5 separate regions of the Homo sapiens genome follow, and regions 2, 3, 4 and 5 are each linked to region 1. Evidence: promoter capture Hi-C in 16 types of primary human blood cells and fetal thymus (Javierre and others, 2016). All regions are on one chromosome and are shown on one strand. The core of a region is centred on a gene start or on the middle of the fragment in contact, and the rest is flanking DNA. Distances in the headings are between cores, read along the strand shown.

Region 1 (2,700 bases), core at 59-2,558:
CCACGCCCGGCCTTATTTTTATTTTTGAGACAGTCTCACTCTGCCGCCCAGGCTGGAGTGCAGTGGTGCGATCTCGGCTTACCGCAATCTCTGCCTCCCAGGTTCAAGCGATTCTCATGCCTCCGTCTCCCAAGTAGCTGGGATTACAGGCACCTGCCACCATGCCCGGCTAATTTAACGCCCAGCTAATTTTTGTATTTTTAGTAGAGATGGGGTTTCACCATGTTAACCAGGCTGGTCTCGGACTCCTGACCTCAGGTGATCCGCCCGCCTCGGCCTCCCAAAGTGCTGGGATTACAGGCGTGAGCCACTGTGCCTGGCTGATTTTTATTCTTTTAGTTAAGGCTGGTTGATATTACCTTGTGTGTATATACCACATGTTGTTTATCCATTGTTGTTGATGGACATGTGGGTGGTTTCACCTTTTGGCTATTGTGAATAAAGCTGCTATGAACACTGTGTACAAATATGTTAGAGACCCTGTTTTCAGTTCTTTTAGGTGTGTACCCCGAAGTGGAATTGCTGGATTTTATGGCAATCCCACGTTTAACTTCTGGAGGAGCTGCTGGAACTGTTTTCCACAGCAGGGGCGCCATGTTACGTCCCTGCCAGCAATGCACGCGCAGTTCAATTTCTCTGCATACTCACCAATATCTGCTGTTTTCCATTAAAAAAAATTATAGCCGGTCGGGTGCAGTGGCTCATGCCTGTAATCCCAGCACTTTGGGAGACCGAGGCAGGTGGATCAACTGAGGTCAGGAGTTCAAGACCAGCCTGGCCAACACAGTGAAACCCCATCTCTACTAAAAATACAAAAATTAGCCTGGTGTGGTACATACCTATAATCCCAGCCACTTGGGAGGCTGAGGCAGGAGAATCGCTTGAACCTGGGAGGTGGAGGTTGTAGTGGGCCGAGATGGCGCCACTGCACTCCAACCTGGGCAAAAAGAACGAGACTTTGTCTCAAAAGAAAAAAAAAAAATACAGCCATTCCAGAAGGTGTGAAGTCATATCTCACTGTGGTTTTGATGCGTATTTTCCTAGTGACATCAGGGAGTTTATGGGAGCACGGGAACACAGACCAGGCCCCAGCAGGCGGACAAACGGTGCAACGCCAGGCTGGCCAGAGGAGATAAGCGCGGCTCCTTGGAGCTTGTGTGCAAGTCACTGTACTGAGGAGCCGGCTACGGCTCGATGAGTCTCAATTAGGAAAGGCCGGGGCTGGTGGAGGAAGGGAGGAGAGCATTCTTCATCCTCATCACATCCTGAGCCTGTGCCCCAGGCTCCCACCACTTCCCTCCCTGGCCACAGAGCTCAGGACAGGGCTGAGGAACCATGTCTCCATCCCCGACCGCCCTCTTCTGTCTTGGTGAGTCCTGAGGGTCAGATCTGGGAAATGCTGAAGGACAGGCATGGACTGCCAGACAAAGGATTTTTAAGAAATTTGCATTGGTGATGAATTTCAGGACAAAAAGGAACCTGTAAGAGCCCCTTCATTTGTTGGGTGGGGAAACGGGGGGCCAGCGAGCTGGCATTTTGCATGAGTTATTCCAGTGTATTCATGGCTGGGTCAGGAAATGAACAGAGTATCCTAGCATTGGTCACAACTTTGTTCTACTACACTGCAGTTGCCCCTTTTTTAAAAAATGTGGGCCAGGCACAGTGGCTCACGCCTGTAATCTCAACCTTGGGAGGCCGAGGTGGGTGGATCACCTGAGGTCAGGAGTTCAAGACCAGCCTGGTCAACATGGTGAAACCCCATCTCTACAAAAATTAGCCGGGCGTGATGGCGGGTGCTTGTAATCCCAGCTACGTGGGAGGCTGAGGTGGGAGAATTGCTTGAAACTGGGAGGCAGAAGTTGCAGTGAGCTGAGGTCAGGCATTGCACTCCAGCCTGGGCAACAGAGAGAGCCTCCATCTCAAAAAAAAAAAAAAAAAAAAAAAAAAAGGCTGAGTGCCATGGCTTACACACTTTGGGAGGCCGAGGCGGGTGGGCCATCTGAGGTCGGGAGTTTGAGACCAGCCTGACCAACATGGAGAAACCCCATCTCTACTAAAAATACAAAATTAGCCGGGTGTGGTGGCACATGCCTGTAATCCCAGCTACTCTGGAGGCTAAGGCAGGAGAATCGCTTGAACCTGGGAGGTGGAGGTTGCGGTGAGCCAAGATCACACCATTGCACTCTGGCCTGGGCAACAAGAGCGAAACTCCGTCTCAAAAAAAAAAAAAAAAAAATTGTGGAATTGATATCTGGACTAGGTATGGATTTAATTTGTCAGTATCCCCTACAGTAGTGGAGTAAATAGTCTCCTGATGGATGGGTGGCAGGTCGAATGCATTTCTGCTGCCTGATCTTCACTTGTGCTGGGCATGTCGAATGCATTATTTCCTGATTTCTTCAGAATTTGACCACTAAAGGGACAGCATCTCCAAAAGGCTAAGCAGGAAGAAGATGGTTGCATTACTGGAGATGAGAGGGTTAACTGTGAATATAAACAACCTCTCATTCATTATCCATCCATGGATGTATTCTTTTTTTCTTTTTGTTTGTTTTTTGAGATGGAGTCTCGCTCAGTCGGTCGCTCAGGCTGGAATGCAATGGCATGATCTCAGCTCACTGCAAACTCTGCCTCCCGGGTCCAAGTGATTCTCCTGCCTCAGCCTCCCGAATAGTTGGGATTACAGGCATCTGCCACCAG
Region 2 (2,700 bases), core at 111-2,610, 370 kb after region 1:
TCCTTACAGCACGTTGCACTCCTGGACACGATGCATTTATTTGCATTTTGTCTCCCACCACGAGGTGAGCTCAGGAGGCGGGGGCGGCTTTGCTCCCTGCTGTGTCTGCAGCTCCCATGGGGAGCCCCATCCACAGTGAGCTCCCTGGGAACACTCACTAGATGAATGAATGAAGGGGAGCCCAGGGGACTGGAGTGGTTCATTTATTCGTCATCCTCCTGAGGCCTGGGGAGCTCTCTAACAACCAGATGGCCAAACAGAGGATGAGGAGCAGGAAGGGGACCCGGGAGGAGGCCCATGAGGTCCCAGGACAGCAGGAGAGAGTGAGGTCCCAGCAGGCAGGAGGCAGCGTGCTGGACAAGGAGGGGTCCACCGTGACGATGCTGAGAGCCGGGGGAAGGAGGACAGAGAAGTCCTGCAGGATTAGATCTGGCACCAGGAGGCCTTTGGTGCCGGGGACAGGGGCGGGTTCTCACCCGAGTGTCCATTTCCACCCCGTCCTCAGGCTGTGTGTTCTTCACGGCAGCACCTGCTGGGGTAGAGCAAGGGGTTCATCTCCTGGGAAGGTTCCCTGGGACCTCTCATTCCTGCTGGTCCCTGCCCTGTTCCCATTAGTGCCACTGCAACGCAGGGAGGGGCTGTGATGTCCCCGAGGTCCCACAATGTGGGTTCAGACCACTTCTCCCTGAGTCCCTGACCAATCCTAGCCTGTGCTCCTGCCCCCATTGCTATTGAAATTTTGGGACCCCCAGCTCCACCCCAGGTGCACCTTCTCTGCCTCTCACTCACAGAAGTTTTCTCCCTGGACGTCAGCAGCTGGGCTGGACCTGGGGGAGGATACGGGAGTGTAAGGGGACAGTGAGGTGGCTGTTGGGATGGGTGGGAGTCTGAGGTCTTTGGGCAGAATTACCTCCTCTGTAGGCCCCCGTCCTTGGGCTCTGGCTCGGCAGCCCCTGGAGGACGTTGGAAATCAGCCTGTCTCTGGGCTGGGGGAAGATGGACAGAGTCTCAGCTCTGGGAACGTTAGAACCACCTGCCTTGCACATGCAAGTCAAGAGGAAAGGAAACCTGAAAATACACTTGCAAGGATGTTTTAAATACTTTCTAAGTTTAGAAAAACCGAAAGAATAAAGCACTTCCATTACTCCCTCATTCATTTTCTTCTTTCTAGATTTTCTCACTGGGAATTTCTGGAGCAGAGTTTCTAAGATGACCTCTCCTATCTGGAGTCCCTTTGGCTGGTGCCCTGAGCCCACCCTCCATCAGCCCACGGGTCCCCCAATTTCCTACTTACCCAATGTCCTGTGTTTTCCCTGACGCCAGTGTTGGAGGAGGAGGAAGAGGAGGAGGGAGAGAAGCAGGATGGAGACCACCAAGACCCCGATCAGTACCTCCCAGTGCCTTCTCAGACCTTGGGCGTGATGACATCAGGAATGGGGATGATGTCATTGATGTGCACACCTACTGTGTGTGCACCTACTGTGTGTGCTGGGTCTTTCTTTCATTACCTCCAACCCTCACAGCAGTTGTGCAACCTGAGATTGCCACCCTCTCTCCACCCATTTCACAGATGCACAAACTGAGGCTCAGAGAGGGGAATCGCCTGCCCCAGACCCCTCCAGCCAGGAAGCGGCAGAGCTGGGAAGGAAACCCGGGAGTCTGAGCTGCAGCCCTTGTTCCTGCACCAGAGCCAAGCCCCAGAGTTGCAGGGAAAGAGCCTGACTGTCTTGAACCACCGCCCTGCTCCCCTCCCCTGCCCCAGGTCACCGTCTCTGCTGCAGGTGGGACCGGACAGGCCCCTGCGGAATCGGGTCTGGGAGGTTCCCTGGGAGGCCTCCTCTCCCAGGAGGGCACAGCTGGGAGTCAGAGCTGAAAGGAACTTTCCCACCCGCAGGCCTCTCTCCTTTACACTTGGAGAAACTGAGGCCCATGCAGGGGAGGGGCCTGTCCACATCACCACCTCCAGAGGAGCCTTAACCTAGGACAGAACCCACCCTTGGCTCCCCTAGACCCTGCCCACCTCCCACTCAGAGCCCCTCACTCACCACTGTGGGGGACTGACCCTGTAGGCATGAGGGGCTGGTCCTCAGGGCCTGCTGGGTTAGAACAGGGATGTGAGGGCTGGGGCTGCCCTGCTCCCCACATCAGCTCGGCTTCTCCCCGCAACATCTCCTTCAGCCTTGACCCCCTCACCCCTCACCAGCCCAGCCTCAGGGCCTTGGGAGCCTGTGGTGCCTCCCAAGTCGCTGCCCGACTCCCACACCCGTGGAAGCAAGCCCAGCTGAGAATTGGAACGAGGACTTAGATCCACTGAGCATGTCTTGAGACAGGCCTCGGGCTTTGGAAACTCTCTGGACAGAGGCCTCTGAGACTCACCAGCTGTTGAGACGGACCTTGTGGGTGAGGGCCTGGGACCCTCCAAGGATCCTGGGTAGAAGGACAAGAGGAGGGTGAGAGTCTGGGGTTGCCCTTGGGTCTCCACATCAAATTGAACCTCTCCCTATATCTGCCCTGCAGCTTCCCAAGGACCATTTCTCTGTCCACCTGGCACCTTCTGGACCCTAGGTGAGGGAGAAGAGCATGGGCATGCCTGGGAGGGCCCCTGTTGTCCTCCTCCCCTCTGAGGGCTGAGTCCCCCACTGGCTGAGCCCCTCTCCCTCCATCCCTGCCCAGAGCTCTCCTGGCAGCAGGGCATGAACG
Region 3 (2,700 bases), core at 146-2,645, 310 kb after region 1:
TAGATTTTAACACTGCAAAATTACTTACATAAAAGAACACAAGGTAGACACAGGATGGAGGGCATGATCAGCTAATGCATGAACCATAATAAACAACTGAGCCCCTATTAGAAGATCTGGAATGTCAGGGTCATGACTGTGGTTCCCCCACCTCTTAGGTAGAATGACAGCAGCCACATTGCAGCCCCTACCGTCATGGAAACGCTGGAGGGTGTGAGTTATGCTCTTGTCCTCAGAGGCCTGTTGTTCCTTGCACTGCTTCTCTCCCTTCCTCTGCCGGTGACACCACTTCCTCCCTGCACACCACTCCTTTGAGCACTTCAGTCTCCCCCTGGGTCCCCACAGACTCAGCCAAGGGAAAGAAAGGCCGGGGAGGGCTAGGACAGAACTGTGGCGAAGCTTCCCCTGGCTTCCTTTTCCTAGTTCATGAGAGATTCCCACATGGCTTCCCATGGTCAGCCCATCAGTCAACCCCCTGTGTCGCCTGCCTCCCGTTTCAGGAGCATCATCTTATGTGGGGAGATGACAACCTAAGGTTTGGGGGAAGGACTCACCCACATGTGGCCAGGGCCCCTCCAGCAAGAAGAACCCTGGAAAGAAAGATCATGATGGATGATCCATCTGTACATCACCTCCAGGCCCATATCTCCACTCCAGGCCCATATCTCCACCTCTAGGCCCATATCTCCACTCCAGGCCTATATCTCCACCTCCGTCCTATATCTCTACTCCAGGCCCATATCTCCACTCCAGGCCTATATCTCCACCTCCGTCCTATATCTCTACTCCAGGCCCATATCTACACTCCAGGCCCATATCTCCACCTCCAGGCCTGTATCTCCACCTCCAGGCCCGTGTCTCCATTCCAGGCCCATATCTGCACTCCAAGCCAACATCTCCACTCCAGGCCCGTATCTCTACTCCAGGCCCATATCTACAGTTCCAGGCCCATATCTCCACCTCCAGGCCCATATCTCCACTCTAGGCCCATATCTCCACCTCCAGGCCCGTATCTCAATTCCAGGTCCATATCTGCACTCCAAGCCAATATCTCCACTCCAGGCCCATATCTACAGTTCCAGGCCCATATCTCTACTCCAGGCCCATATCTCTACTTCAGGCCCATATCTACAGTTCCAGGCCCATATCTCCACTCCAGGCCCATATCTCCACCCCAGGCCCATATCTCCACTCCAGGCCTATATCTCCACTCCAGGCCCATATCTCCACTCCAGGCCCAGATCTCCACTCCAGGCCCAGATCTCCACCCCAGCGCTCCCTCCCTCGATTCCCTTCCAGGACTCACCAACACACGCCATGCTGACGACCATGAGCGACATGGTGCTGCCGGTGCAGACAGGCGGCTGCGCCCCAGCTCAGTTCAGCAGCACACAGGATGTTGTGAGGGGCTCATGCAGTTTACATGCTGACCACATCATGGGAGGATGACGTATGCAGGCTATTTCTACCTTGCATGAGGCCCAGTGGCTGTTTGGTCAAGAGCGGAACATGGCTTCCTGGAAATTGTTCCAACTAGAATTGACACCTTGCATCCTTCACTATAACCAACTCAAAACACGTCTCAGATCCAATCTCTCATACAGGAGATGACTGAATGCTTGGCTTACATTAAAGACTTTTGATGTATTTTTGTTGTTTTTATCTGAGATTCAAACTCTTCTTCATGTGCTATTTTCCCCAGGCTGTTCTTTGACTTCAGAGTTCAAGCAATCCTCCTGCCCCAGCATTTCTAGCAGCTGGCAGTATGTCACAATCTGCCACACCCAAGTCACAACTTTTAGAACTTTTTTTTTTTTTGAGACGCAATCTCACTTCGTCACCCAGTTTGGAATGCAGTGGTGAGACCTCGGCTCATTGCAGCCTCCACCTCCCAGGTTCACGCAATTCTCGTGCCTCAGCCTCCTAAGTAGCTGGATTTACAGGCACCCACCATCACGCCCACCTAATTTTTGTACTTTTAGTAGAGAGGAGGTTTCTCCATGTTGGCCAGGCTGGTCTTGAACTCCTAACCTCAAGTGATCTGTCTACTTCAGCCTCCCAAAGTGCTGAGATTACAGGTGTGAGCCACCATGCCTGGCCGGGACATTCTATATGTGTGCGTATGTGTGCGTTTATATACATATGGTTATACACACACACACACACACACACCCTAAGCACTCACATATATAGTTGTTTCAAATTTTAAAAAATATAAATTTTGTATTTTTCTTTCTTTTTCTCACATTTGTGTTTCTATGACACCATATACATATTGAATTTTATAGTTCTATTTTATTCTTTTGGATTGCAGTTTAATAGTCCATACATAACTTTATCAACATGTAATTATCCACTCTTTTTATCATGGACATTTGTGTTGTTTCCGGATTTTCTCTTTTATAACTCGGGCCTTGATAATCGTGTTTCTGTGTGATCCCTTGCATACATATGCTGAATTAATTAGACATATTTACCTAGGAATGAAATTATTGGTTTTGGGTGCAAGTTGGTGTTGAGCTTAACCAGGAAGTGCCAAAATATTTCCATCATGACCAAATGTGGCCTGGAAAGTTTTTTGGGGTCAATTTTCCTGTTTCTTCTAAGGAACAAAATTGATGTCACTGATTTTTCTGTCCTGTTTGTCATTTATGAATATACGTACATATGCACGTATATATTTGCTTGCCATTTTATGTT
Region 4 (2,700 bases), core at 29-2,528, 460 kb after region 1:
CAGGGAACTCCAAGCAATTCTGTGAATTTCTCACCTGGGACCAGGAGCTCCAGGAGATCACTGGGTAGAGACCACACATAGGGAGAGTTCGAGTCATAAGCATAGCACCTGTACGACCACCTGCGACTCGGGCTCACGGGGCCCACGGAGAAGATGGCCCAGGACCACCCACGGGCATGGGAATGGGAGTTCAGGCGTTGTGGGTGTTCATCTTCTCCTTCCTTACACAGAATGAAGCCGTCAAATGCCACCTGTGAGACACACTGGAGGGTCACGTTCCCTCCTGAGGTCACCACAGGGCTGGGCAGAGCTGAGAGGGTGGGTTTGCTGTAGGCTCCTAGGAGAGAAGGAGGCACTGTGTTAAATGGGGCTCCCACCTCCCACATCATCCCCAGGGTTGAGCTGTGAGAGCGGAGATGCCCCTGAGAGCCGACCCCCTTCCTGAGGGCAGAGCCTGGGGCTGGGACTCCTGAGTGTCCTCTCACCTGTCACCACCAGCTCCAGGGGGTCACTGTACTCTGATGAGTGATTGTGGCTGTAGTACTGACAGTGATACCGCCCTGCGTGTTCCCAGGTGATGGATGGGATGGGGAACTGGCCATTCTTCCCAGGCTCTTGTATCCGTCTAACCCAGGATGCTGATTTGTTTTCCCTATATAGATGGTACTCCTCAGCCTGAAGGCTCCCCTGACACCTGAGGGTCACAGGACTTCCCTGGATGATCACAGAGCCTGGCTCAGCCCAGAGGGTGGGCTTGGGGAGGTGCCCTGGAAGGAAATCAGAGGTCGGATTCTAAGTCATTTCCCACCCAACAGATCTCAGCTCTCAGCTGCAGGACCCTCCAGACACCCCCATCAGTCAGCCCAGAACTGCTATTCCCCATCCCCAGCTGCACGGGGGTGGCCCCTTGTCCCTAGTGAGGAGGAGGGACCTGGGACAGCTGGGAACAGACTCACCTGCCTGCACGTGGGTCCTGGGGCCCAGACTCAGCCCTGGAAGAGAGTTCCCTGTGAGGGATTTTTCCCCTGAAGCCTGGGCAGGTCCTCCCCTCCCTGGGATCTTTGTGAGCCCCTGGGGTCTCCTTAGGGACCAGAGTTTGGCTGTGGGGTGAGGTCCCTCCTAGGTTAGAAGCTCCCCTCCCTCTTCAAATCTCACCGAGACAGATCAGGACCGTGAGGATGGGGGTCATGGCGTCTCCTCCCACTGCCCTGCTCTGCGGATGGATGAGCCCTCAGTGCTGGCAGGACAGAGAGACGCACAGGGTGTGGACACTCGGAGGCTGGATCCTTCTTGTCATGGGGTTTTGTTATGTGCAACCACACAGGAAGTGCAACTGCCCTCTCAGGAGCCTGGCTGTCATACCTTTAGGGCTGAGGTGGGGGCAGGCACCAGGCCCTCTGCAGACATTTCAGACTGTAATGGGGTCTTTCCTGCCCCCCAGCCACTGTCTGTCTGGTTTATCCTCATCTCCTTGAGACCTGGGATGTAGCAGCAAATAGAACTGGTGCCCTCCTGCGTCTGCCCTTCCAGATGAGGGTGAGCAGAGGCTTCCTCTTCCTTCTCAGAGCTTCCCCATGGGGTCTCCCTCCCTCCTTCAGCCCGTCCATCAGCTCAGCGTTGCGGGGTCCTTACCATGGCGGTCGTCCCTCCAGCCCTGGAGATGCTTCAGGGAAAACCCAGGTCCATGCTGCAGTTAGACTCAGATCAGCAGAGACGCACCTGACACCTGGCTGTGTAGCTCAGGTTGAGCTGCGTGTGGCAGTGAGCACAGAGGAGTAATGCAGGGTCTACCATGGTGGCTCATGCCTGGAATCCCAGCACTTCAGGAGGCTGAGGTGGGTGAAGGCTAGAGGCCAGGAGCTTCAGATTACCCTGGGCCACATAGCAAGACCTTGTCTGTATAAAAAAAGCAAAAAATTAGCCAGGCATGGCAGCTCACATCTCTAGTCCCAGCTACTCAGGAGGCTGAGGTGGGAGGAATACTTCGGCCTGGGAGGCGGAGGCTGCAGGGAGCTATGATCACCCCTTAGCATTCCAGCCTCAGTGACAGAGTGAGACCCTGTCTCAAAAGGGGAAATGCAGGGATTAACTATAATAAAACATATTTGTTCTGTCTTGAGAGTGTGTGTTTCCTTCCTACCAAACCGTCCCTCTCCTGTACTTCCCCTTTTCTCTTTGTTGCAACATCACCCACCCCCACCCCGGGAATGAGGCTCTGAGTCGGTCCCGCCCCCTCAGTGTCCCTTGCGTCCTTGGCCTTCCCTCGGCACCTCCGTCCATGTTCAGAGTTTTCAGAAGAATTTGTTAGGTCTGTAATCTGATTCTGGGGAAGGTGAGCTGATTTGTATTTAATTCCTGATTATCATCCAGGGTTTATGTGACTTTGGACATGAATGTCACCTCTGAGCCTGCTGTCGTGAACCCCACTCATCACAGTGGCTGTGGGGGTCAGTGGTGCCCAGGACATGGGAGGCTCAGCCATGGTGAATTTCCAGACCAGTTCAGACAGGAGGGTGGGGACGGGAGAGGATCCTGGTGCTGGGCTCCACAGTCCAGGAGGATGATTGACGCCCCCACTCAAGAGCCCACATCGGCTCCAAATACCATGAAATTCTCCTTGTGATACATCTGAAATATGCAGATCATCACAGCCACGGGCACAGAAAGAGGAAGAACAGTTCCTCACATTGAGACGCATCC
Region 5 (2,700 bases), core at 75-2,574, 390 kb after region 1:
AGCCTGGCCAACACAGTGAAACCCTGTCTCTAAAAAAAATACAAAAAATTATCTGGGTGTGGTGGTGTATACCTGTAATCCCAGCTACTCAGGAGGCTGAGGCAGGAGAATCACTTGAACCTGGGAGGTGGAGGTTGCAGTGAGCCGAGATCGTGCCATTGCACTCCAGCCTAGGTGACAGAGTAAGACTCTGTCTCAAGAAAAAAAAAAAAAAAGGAGTGGCCTGTGGGGAAACAGCAGTGCCCTCAATGTGGGGACAAAGCATCAGGAGAGACTGGGACTGCACGTCTGAGCCAGGGAGGACAACAGAGCAAATCACAGGCAAAGAGAGAAGAAGCCCAGCTGGGCCAGAGTGCATGGAAATAAGAGAGGAGGGGACACACGTGAGCAGTGCTAAGAAGGCAGAACACATGGTTGGACCTGATTAATGTTGATTGTGGGGTGAAAGAGAGAGAGAAGTGATAATGGTTCTTAAAGCTCTGGCTTGGCTAACTTAGTGCACTTTTTATCTGTTAGCTCCTCTCTTTTGTGTGTTTTTACTACTCTTTCTCATTTTAAATTATAGTAAAAAAAAAAACAAATGAAATAAAATTTACCATATTTACTCTTTCTAACTCTACAGTGCAGTATTGTGAAGTGGTTTGACATTGCTATGCAACCATCGCCATCACCATCCCCAAAGTATTTTATCTTTCCAATTGAAGCTTTATATTCAGTAAACACCAACTCTCAGTTTCCAGGCCCCCAAGCCTCTGTTAACCGTGATTCTACTTCCTGAGTCTGTGAGTTTGACAGGTAGCTCATATAGATAGAATCTTAGCAATATTTGCAATATTTGTCCTTTATGAGACTGGCTTATTTCACTTAGCATAATATCTTCAAGGCTCTCCATATTATAGTGTATGTCAGTCACAATTTCATTTCTTTGAGAGACTGAACAGTATTTCCTAGTTTCTATAACATTTGTTTATCCATTTATCCATCTTTGGGTTTTTTCTACTTTTTTGTTAATGTGAATAACGCTGTTATGAACATGAGTATATGAGCATCCTTTTAAATCCTTGCTTTAATTTTCCCAGAAATTGCCGGGTCATATGGTAATTCTGTGTTTAATCTTCTGAGGAACTGACATACATCTGGGTAATTTTTACACTGCGTTCATTTTTTGAGAGCCTAAGAAGCAATATGAGGCTATGGTTATTATCATTTTTATTCAATACTGAGTCCCAAAGTCCTTGCGTATTAACTGGCATAATGTATGATCCAACAGATATTGTGGGGAGAAGTGATTAAATAAAGGACGCAATTGTCTAGAGGGAACTTAGAGCCCAGAGACCACACTTGGAGCATTTGTCTTCCTTGTCCAGCAGACAGTGCAGAACTGTGAGACGCGGGCATCACTGACAATGAACCCAAAGGGGCTGAATGTCGGGAATCCTGCAGACACCAGGAAAGAGATGCTTCTCAGCCAATGGCTTGGGTTCTGAATCCAGGTTACCCACAGTGATAAAATACCAGCTAGACCATGAGAGGAGACAAACATGCTCACCAGGACGAGGATGGTGTGTGTGGCTCTAGTTTCATGAGATTTTCAGGGGGAGAGGCCGTGGCTGCGAATGCATTGGACTGTCTGCTTGTGTCTATATAAGAAGAGGATCATGGAGCTGCTGGTGTAGTCCATGAGGGCCAAAGACATACCATCCACAAGGGAGAAAATGACTGCATTTGCTAAGAATAGCAATCATCCTAGAATGGGTGAGGAGAGTACCTATACATTTATTCCATACTCACGTTTTTGCTCTTCATTGGGCCAGTTACATGCATTGCAATATGGGTATATGCCACAATTTGCAAGATCCAGCAGAGGGGGCAGCAGAAAACAATGCACTTTGTGGACCTAATTCGGAGTTCCATCCTCCTAGAGATACTGAGGTTGAAGCTTCATGGCCTGGAAGCCACTGGGGAGACAGGCGGTGCTGAGGGAAACCCCTCTGGCCACTCTGTGTATAGATAGAAGACAAGTTTCATCCAGCCTCGTCCAGGAAGGATTTCATTCCAAAAGCTGCCATTGTCTGGGGGATTCGTTTAGAGAAAAGAACCAGGTTGTTGGCTAAGACCAGCTGGCTGAGAATCAGGTCTCTGGGTCTCAATATCTGTGAAGTGATAAAAGTAAAGCTAAAAAAGTAAAGGAGTGAAGAATTTCCAAGGATTCCAGCAGCGGTCTGAGTGAGAAAGACAATACCCTGATTTAAGTTAACAGAAACCGATCCATCCATTATAGAAACGGTATCACATTTCCTCAAAATGTTAAAAATTGAACTATAAGACACCAGATTTCAACTTCCGGATAATTATCCAAAAGAACTCAAATCAAGATCTTGAAGAGATATATCCACACTGATGAATTCACTGCACCAGTATTCACAATAGCCGAGGTAAATAAATGACATAAATGCCCATTGATGGAGGAATGGATTAAGATAACATAGTATAATAAATATAAAGTTTTATTCAGTCTTGAAAAAGAAGAAAATCAGATCATTTGTGATAGCAGGATTGGACCCAAATGACATTATGCTAAGTGAAATGAATCCAACTCTTAATAGATAAATATCTTATAATCTCACATAATTGTGGAATCTAAATAGTGAAATTCATAGAAGCTGAGAGTAGAATGGTGGTTAGCAGGGGCTGGAAATG

The links. Contacts are between HindIII fragments. The CHiCAGO score rates a contact against its expected background, and 5 or more counts as called.
Region 2: a contact is called between a fragment that was not itself captured here and the fragment with the promoter of GP6 in region 1, in 1 of 17 cell types (M2 macrophages). The highest score is 6.5, in M2 macrophages.
Region 3: the fragment with the promoter of KIR3DL3 here is called in contact with the fragment with the promoter of GP6 in region 1 in 4 of 17 cell types (M1 macrophages, monocytes, M0 macrophages and 1 more); the score reaches 6.7 in M1 macrophages.
Region 4: a contact is called between the fragment with the promoter of LILRA2 here and the fragment with the promoter of GP6 in region 1, in 4 of 17 cell types (monocytes, total B cells, erythroblasts and 1 more). The highest score is 11.9, in monocytes.
Region 5: a contact is called between a fragment that was not itself captured here and the fragment with the promoter of GP6 in region 1, in 1 of 17 cell types (M1 macrophages). The highest score is 5.8, in M1 macrophages.

Annotation. Positions count from the first base shown.
Region 1 is chr19:55,036,872-55,039,571 of GRCh38, reverse strand. It overlaps GP6 (glycoprotein VI platelet), which reads left to right and starts at 1,308. Exons shown (of 8, transcript NM_016363.5): 1 at 1,308-1,369. The coding sequence starts at 1,336. All of the region lies in intron 2 of GP6-AS1 (GP6 antisense RNA 1), which reads right to left. It also overlaps a transcript of RDH13 not described here. The HindIII fragment of the contact is 26,016 bases long and covers 1-2,700 here.
Region 2 is chr19:54,664,526-54,667,225 of GRCh38, reverse strand. It overlaps LILRB4 (leukocyte immunoglobulin like receptor B4), which reads right to left. Exons shown (of 12, transcript NM_001278426.4): 5 at 2,377-2,427; 6 at 2,046-2,096; 7 at 1,295-1,411; 8 at 911-986; 9 at 790-827; 10 at 477-529. Among named protein-coding and RNA genes, the nearest start is that of LILRB4, 2.9 kb to the right of the region's middle. The HindIII fragment of the contact is 6,500 bases long and covers 1-2,700 here.
Region 3 is chr19:54,723,137-54,725,836 of GRCh38, reverse strand. KIR3DL3 (killer cell immunoglobulin like receptor, three Ig domains and long cytoplasmic tail 3) reads right to left here and starts at 1,395. Exons shown (of 8, transcript NM_153443.5): 1 at 1,307-1,395; 2 at 555-590. The coding sequence starts at 1,340. The HindIII fragment of the contact is 6,556 bases long and covers 402-2,700 here.
Region 4 is chr19:54,572,368-54,575,067 of GRCh38, reverse strand. LILRA2 (leukocyte immunoglobulin like receptor A2) reads right to left here and starts at 1,278. Exons shown (of 8, transcript NM_001130917.3): 1 at 1,156-1,278; 2 at 957-992; 3 at 486-767; 4 at 35-337. The coding sequence starts at 1,189. It overlaps LOC107985347 (a long non-coding RNA gene), which reads left to right and starts at 2,240. Exons shown (of 2, transcript XR_002958419.2): 1 at 2,240-2,332. The HindIII fragment of the contact is 11,294 bases long and covers 1-2,700 here.
Region 5 is chr19:54,647,487-54,650,186 of GRCh38, reverse strand. It overlaps the pseudogene VN1R105P. Among named protein-coding and RNA genes, the nearest start is that of MIR8061, 3.5 kb to the right of the region's middle. The HindIII fragment of the contact is 1,235 bases long and covers 707-1,941 here.